Linked DNA regions of Homo sapiens: region 2 is linked to region 1. The links are contacts of gene promoters, found by promoter capture Hi-C in human tissues and cell types (Jung and others, 2019). All regions are on one chromosome and are shown on one strand. The core of a region is centred on a gene start or on the middle of the fragment in contact, and the rest is flanking DNA. Distances in the headings are between cores, read along the strand shown.

Region 1 (3,205 bases), core at 178-2,677:
TTTGGCATAACTTGCTTCCATATCTGTCCAATCAGAAATTTGTTATTTGGTGTGGAAAGGACTGATGAATCTCGGCAAGGTTTCTTTCCCCAAGTAAATCGCATTTGTTCTGGAATTTGTTTTGACCTCTCCTCTAACTTCTCCCTAAATGCCCATCTCTAACCACTACGGACCTTCACCCACTGCCCTGTTCTCCTTCCAAGACATGGGAGATGACAGCTGTGGCTTCTGTTTTCACACCATGACTGCAGTTGTCTAAAAGCCCTCCCAGTTCCTAATGAAAATCCCAACTCATAATTCAGGTTTTCTGCATCTAGTAAAGATCTCAAAGCCGTTCCCTAAATTCTACAATTATTGCCTGTTTATGTTTATGGGTCCCTTTGTTCAAATGTTTATACGCTGCCTGTGGGAAATCATCTTCTGATAATTTTTCTTTCTTCCTTCACAGAAGCACAGAGATGTCTCCTGTACAGCCCATTGCTGGCTGTTAGCACACCTGATATATGCTTGTTCTCACATAGTATGTCTGTGCAGCCACAGGAGGTTTTTATGTGGAACTTCCACACCAGTGTTAAAGACAGCCATAGCCACCAAAGAGATCCTTGTAAAATACAGGATTAGGATATACCACAGGAATTAATAATTCTCAAGCCACTGCTTTAAATTGTAGCCACATTGTTTTTGTAGGGAAGTTGCTCAATTTATATACACAGAACATGAAGGGTTGCATTCTGATCAGGACACCAGTTTCATTTAAGAACCCTATACCAAAAGGTACTTAGATAACCCTCTTTAATATGCACATACTATATTGCTTTGTGCAACATATTGCTTTGAGCAACAAATGATGCTAATTTTCTTGCTAATTTGATCCTCTCTGATTATTTTCTTCAACTCCTAAAAGTCTAAGTGAATACAATGAAAGAATACCATCTGTAAAAACTGTTTTTTAACATATTTTTCCTCAGAGTCAAGAATACATGTTTTTTAAAGACATTTAATAATGATATGGGTTTATCATTCTCTATCAAAAATAATTCCATTGGACATTATGCCAATTTTCTTCTTAGGGTCCCTCGACTAAATAGTAACTTTAAAAACATACTGCTAGTTTGCTATATTTTAGTAGGTCAGCATGCACACCAAAAGTGTATTAAGGTGGACTGCTCTATTTATTGATTTGCCATGAATCTGCTAAAGGCTCAAGGCAATTGTCTGTGGAAAGGGGCGGGAGGGCCATACATGATCGAGGTCATGCGCATCTAGCCAATTTGTAAGACGATCCCGCCGCCCTAAGCCATCAGCAATCCTTAGTATAGGGGCACACTCATGCATTCCTGTCAAGTCATCTTGTGAAAGGCTGCCTGCTTCCAGCTTGGCTTGGATGTGCAACCTTAATAAAACTCACTGAGGTCTGGGAGAAAATAGCAGATCTGCAGCAGATAGGGTAGAGGAAAGGGTCTAGAATATGTACACGCAGCTGACTCAGGCAGGCTCCATGCTGAACGGTCACACAGAGAGGAAACAATAAATCTCAGCTACTATGCAATAAATATCTCAAGTTTTAACGAAGAAAAACATCATTGCAGTGAAATAAAAAATTTTAAAATTTTAGAACAAAGCTAACAAATGGCTAGTTTTCTATGATTCTTCTTCAAACGCTTTCTTTGAGGGGGAAAGAGTCAAACAAACAAGCAGTTTTACCTGAAATAAAGAACTAGTTTTAGAGGTCAGAAGAAAGGAGCAAGTTTTGCGAGAGGCACGGAAGGAGTGTGCTGGCAGTACAATGACAGTTTTCCTTTCCTTTGCTTTCCTCGCTGCCATTCTGACTCACATAGGGTGCAGCAATCAGCGCCGAAGTCCAGAAAACAGTGGGAGAAGATATAACCGGATTCAACATGGGCAATGTGCCTACACTTTCATTCTTCCAGAACACGATGGCAACTGTCGTGAGAGTACGACAGACCAGTACAACACAAACGCTCTGCAGAGAGATGCTCCACACGTGGAACCGGATTTCTCTTCCCAGAAACTTCAACATCTGGAACATGTGATGGAAAATTATACTCAGTGGCTGCAAAAAGTAAGTGATTGCTTTCAGTTTCTAATAGCACGGACCTTTTTCCTTTCTTGCACTGCAGCTAACTTAAAGTTCCTTAGGGGAGCATTTGTGTATTTACCTTTTGCTCCAGGGGGGCAGTGTTTGCAATTGCAAGACGGCTGTCTGGGTTTGGCTTCCTGGGTAAGCCAAGGTTTGGGGGCTTGCCCAAACCTATGAATGTGTGGGGGCACCCCGTTTGTGTGTCTAGCCCTGGCAAATTTTATGACATTTTTGGTTTCTCTTTTCTAAAGTTCAGCATTAAGGTTCTCTCTGTCAAAACACTACCTTAAGAAAGAAAGTATGTACCTCTTAAGCAAGTTGGTGAAAAATAAATAATAATGACAATATTAATTAATAAGATCAAATCGATTTTGCACCAGAAAATTTTGTGCCGCTGGGGTGGCAAATCATCACAAAGTATTTGTTTTTTTAACCTTTATAAAAATTAACATGAAGTGAGAGTAAATATAAAATATGATATTTGGTTGGAGAAATTGTATATTTATGTAAAGGGAACTGTTAGTTTCAGCAAGTGGTAGAATAGTAGACTGATTTCTGTTAAATATTTTTTTCTTCTGTCCTTGAGAAAAAAAATTAAAAAGATACATTGTAATGTTAACTGTCGGAAAGGGGTTGCTCGCTCACGATGAGGGCATGCTGGCTGTTGAGGAAGACATGCACCTGCAGATATGGGCTGAACGCAGCATGTAGTCTACTATATTCCTGAAATACCTCCCTTCTCAGGGCATTGTAGTTAGAGACAGTACCTGGCGAGTTTAAGTATCCATGTTATTTGATGAATGTTAATGTTGAGTATGAATGTAATCTCAATTTATAGAAATCAAATCGAATAGTTTATCCAGTTATTTATCTACAAACCATTTAAGTTTTTGTTGAAGATAAGCCTATTAAATTATGAACACACTTCTGCAATTCATTCTGTCTTTGCACTCTGTTTAATAATAGGCAGCCGAGAATAAGTATATTCAACTGACTATGCTACTAGAAGGGAGGCAATGTCTCAATTTGTGAAAAGCTTCTCTCCCTTGTTAATGGATTCACTTGGTACATGTAGATAGGTATGCAATCAGGCTTCTTTAAGTT
Region 2 (3,205 bases), core at 521-3,020, 110 kb after region 1:
ACTTTGGATAACCGCACTCCCACATGTTATGCATGGCAGACCTAGATCTAACTCAAAGAAAACCAAGGACTATTGCTGGGCAGTCAGACATAGCACGTAGTCCTTGCCATGATCAGAACAAACCCAAGAGATAGGAAGAAAACATGTTGTCCTCATTTTTTACAGAAATAAAAGGCTGCAATTAACAGTGCTAGGTAGTAGCAAAGTCATGATTAGAACCCAGCTTTCCAGGCTCAGTAAATTTTTATTTTCATATCACTACATTTGTGCTTTAGAAAGTCATATTAGTACTGGGTCATCATGGCTATAAAGGATGTAGAATTGAAATATTGGGTCCATTTGCTCCATCTGAATCCTCAGAGACTATCTTAACTGTGTGAATAAATGTATTTCCACTGTGTATGCAGCCATATAGCCATAGATCTTCAAATTAAATAAACAATATGTCAGGCTCCTTTGAACAAAAGTGTACAATAATGATTTTTGAAACTGCCCTTCTGGTAATACTTTACTATTTCATATCAAAGAAATTAAAGGAGTAACTTCTAGTGTTAATTTGATCCATACATTGCAGAAAGAGTTTTTAGCAGCAGGAAAATAACACAGGAAATGCTCCATACTCTTCAGCCAATCAATTCGGCTCTGCCACTAATCTCTGCCAGGATACAGAATGTTACTGTCTCAATCTCTTTACAGATTCACGGGTGTGCGTTGAAAATTCTGCAATAAAGCAGGTCCACTCTAGAGACTATGCTATGCAAAGTCCATAAAAGTGGTGTACAGGAACGGTATAATCAGGCGGTTTGGGGTATTTTTTCAAATGACAACGAGCTAAGATGTTTTGAGAAGGATGGCTCAGAATAAGCTTCTGTTTACAAAATGGAACCTGACTCCTTTCAGGTATATTGATCATTGACTAGGATATTTTGTTTTATTTATTTATTTATTTATTTTTATTAAAAAATAATTTGGAAATGGGGTCTTGCTCTCTCACCTAAACTGGAGCGCAGTGGTGCAATCATAGCTCACTATGACCTAAAATTCTTGGGCTCAAGTGATCCTCCCACCTCAGCCTCTGAAGTAGCTAGGACCGTAGGTACATGCCACCATGTCCAGCTAATTCTTTTTAAGTTTTTGTAGAGACAGGGTCTTGCTATGTTGCCCGGTCTCAGATATACTGTATAATATTTTGTTTCAGGAACTTTATCCAAAGCTGTTGAGACCACCGTTTGTTACTCATAATTATGATTTGTATGCAATTCATGTTACTAAAAACTAAGTTGTGAAAATATGAATTAGTTTCTTCATAAAAAAATTTTCATCTCATTATAAATTGAGCAAACTTGAGAAACAATTAATATAGATTACTGGCAATTATTGTCTAACTTATTCATACTCTTAAATAGGTCGACCAAAACCCAGAAATATATAACAGATTCCCAAAATATTCTTTAAGACACTGAAAATTTAGAAAGGAGTTGGGATTCAGACATTTTACTTATTTACTTCAAAGAAATTTATTTTTAAAGTTGTGGGGAAAAGTAAAGAACAGCATCAATAGTTCCTCCTATAATACAAAATTTAATCTTAAAAAAAAACCTAGGTAGAGATTATAGTATTGCTTGGAATGAAGTCTTTAAATAGCATGCACAGCCAGAATCTGAATTCTTTCAACATTTCCTACCATTTTTTTCTCTGTCAAAGCTTTTTTCGGTTTATCCTTGCTCAAGATTGTGAATAATCAATGTTAGTGTCAATTATTCACAATCTTGAGCAAAAATAAATAGTACGATCGTACTATAGTATGATTCGTGCTATCGTACTATTTATTACTATTACAAATAGTCTATTGTACCATTGGTAATATTATAATTCTCCCAAATGATCAACAAGTATAAACTGTTATTTCAGTTTAAGAATTATTTGCTTGAAAGTTTTGCTGCCCAGGGATTTTGCAGTGCACACAGAAAGGTACTTGCTAGCATTTTGGCCTTTTATGTCAATAATGCTTTAACAATAGGCACAAAAGAGGAAGAATTCATGTGAAGAAGTTAGCAACTCCTATTTTGTTTCAATACAGCAGGGATCTGAACTCAAACAAAGGAATCTGAACTTGGAGAATATCTTCAGGTCATTTCATCAACGTTGCTCATACTTGGCACCTTTGATCCTTAGTATCTTCCTTTCTCTGTCTTCTACCACTTTGTTTAAGGTTTGCTTTAAAAATTATCCCTTCTGTGGAGCCTTTCCCGACTACTTAGGGTGTTTTACTTTTGTTTTCACAGTGCTGTGCACACATTTCAGTTATGGGTTTTTATAGTTTACCTGTCTATTTAGCCCACTAAACTAAGAATTATTAAAGGAATATCATTTATTTTTGTAACCTAGCATTAGCACAGTAGCTGGCACATAGTTTGTGTCTAATAACTTGTTTTTAATAAATTAATACACTCTCAAAAATAATACAATTATATCACGTTACCATAGATTACTCAGTTTTTACTGTATATTAATTCCAAAAGAGAATACCCTGTAGTCTGTCAGAGAAAGGCACTCTGCAAATTGTATTAACTAGTTACTGACTTCGAGACTGTGTTAGTGTATAATAATAGCTAACATTTGCTAAGACTTTATATATGCTAGGCACTATAATGAATGCTCTATATGTATTGATCCTCTTCCAAATCTTAGGTATAATTATCATTCGTACAATTAATACCACACTTGAAGTTAAGTGTTTGAGTAAGATTCAACTCCAGGCAAGCTGACTCCAGAGTCATCGTTCTTAATCATTAAGGTTGGCTTATTTCTAACCTATGTGATTTAAGGTTGGCTTATCTCTAACAAATACACCATTGAAACACCACCTATTGGATGCTCAACTCAAGGGCTACCAGCAGTTTGTGAAGTACTTTAAATTTTAAGGCAGCCTCTCTTCTTTTTTCTCTTGCTGTGTACTTGTAAATAAATGTGTTTTTTCTTTCCAATTTTATTTTATATTCAAGGTGTACAACATGCAGGTTTGTTACATGGGTAAATTGCATGTTGCAGGGGTTTGCTATACAGATAATTTTGTCATCCAGCTAACTAGCATAATACCTGAGAGCTAGTTTTTCAATTCTCACTCCTCCTACCCTCCATCCTCAAATGGGCCCTCTTGTCTATTGTTCCCTTCTTTTTGTCCACATGTACTCAGTGTTTAGCC

What was found. The method cuts DNA at HindIII sites, captures the fragments that hold promoters and counts their contacts. A contact is called where the count stands out against the background at its distance.
Region 2: a contact is called between a fragment that was not itself captured here and the fragment with the promoter of ANGPT1 in region 1, in 3 of the 25 tissues and cell types used here (aorta, hippocampus and thymus).

What each region holds. Positions count from the first base shown.
Region 1 is chr8:107,496,140-107,499,344 of GRCh38, reverse strand. ANGPT1 (angiopoietin 1) reads left to right here and starts at 1,427. Exons shown (of 9, transcript NM_001146.5): 1 at 1,427-2,083. The coding sequence starts at 1,787. The HindIII fragment of the contact is 10,393 bases long and covers 1-3,205 here.
Region 2 is chr8:107,386,181-107,389,385 of GRCh38, reverse strand. The region is part of intron 1 of ANGPT1 (angiopoietin 1); the gene reads left to right. Among named protein-coding and RNA genes, the nearest start is that of ANGPT1, 110 kb to the left of the region's middle. The HindIII fragment of the contact is 3,714 bases long and covers 1-3,205 here.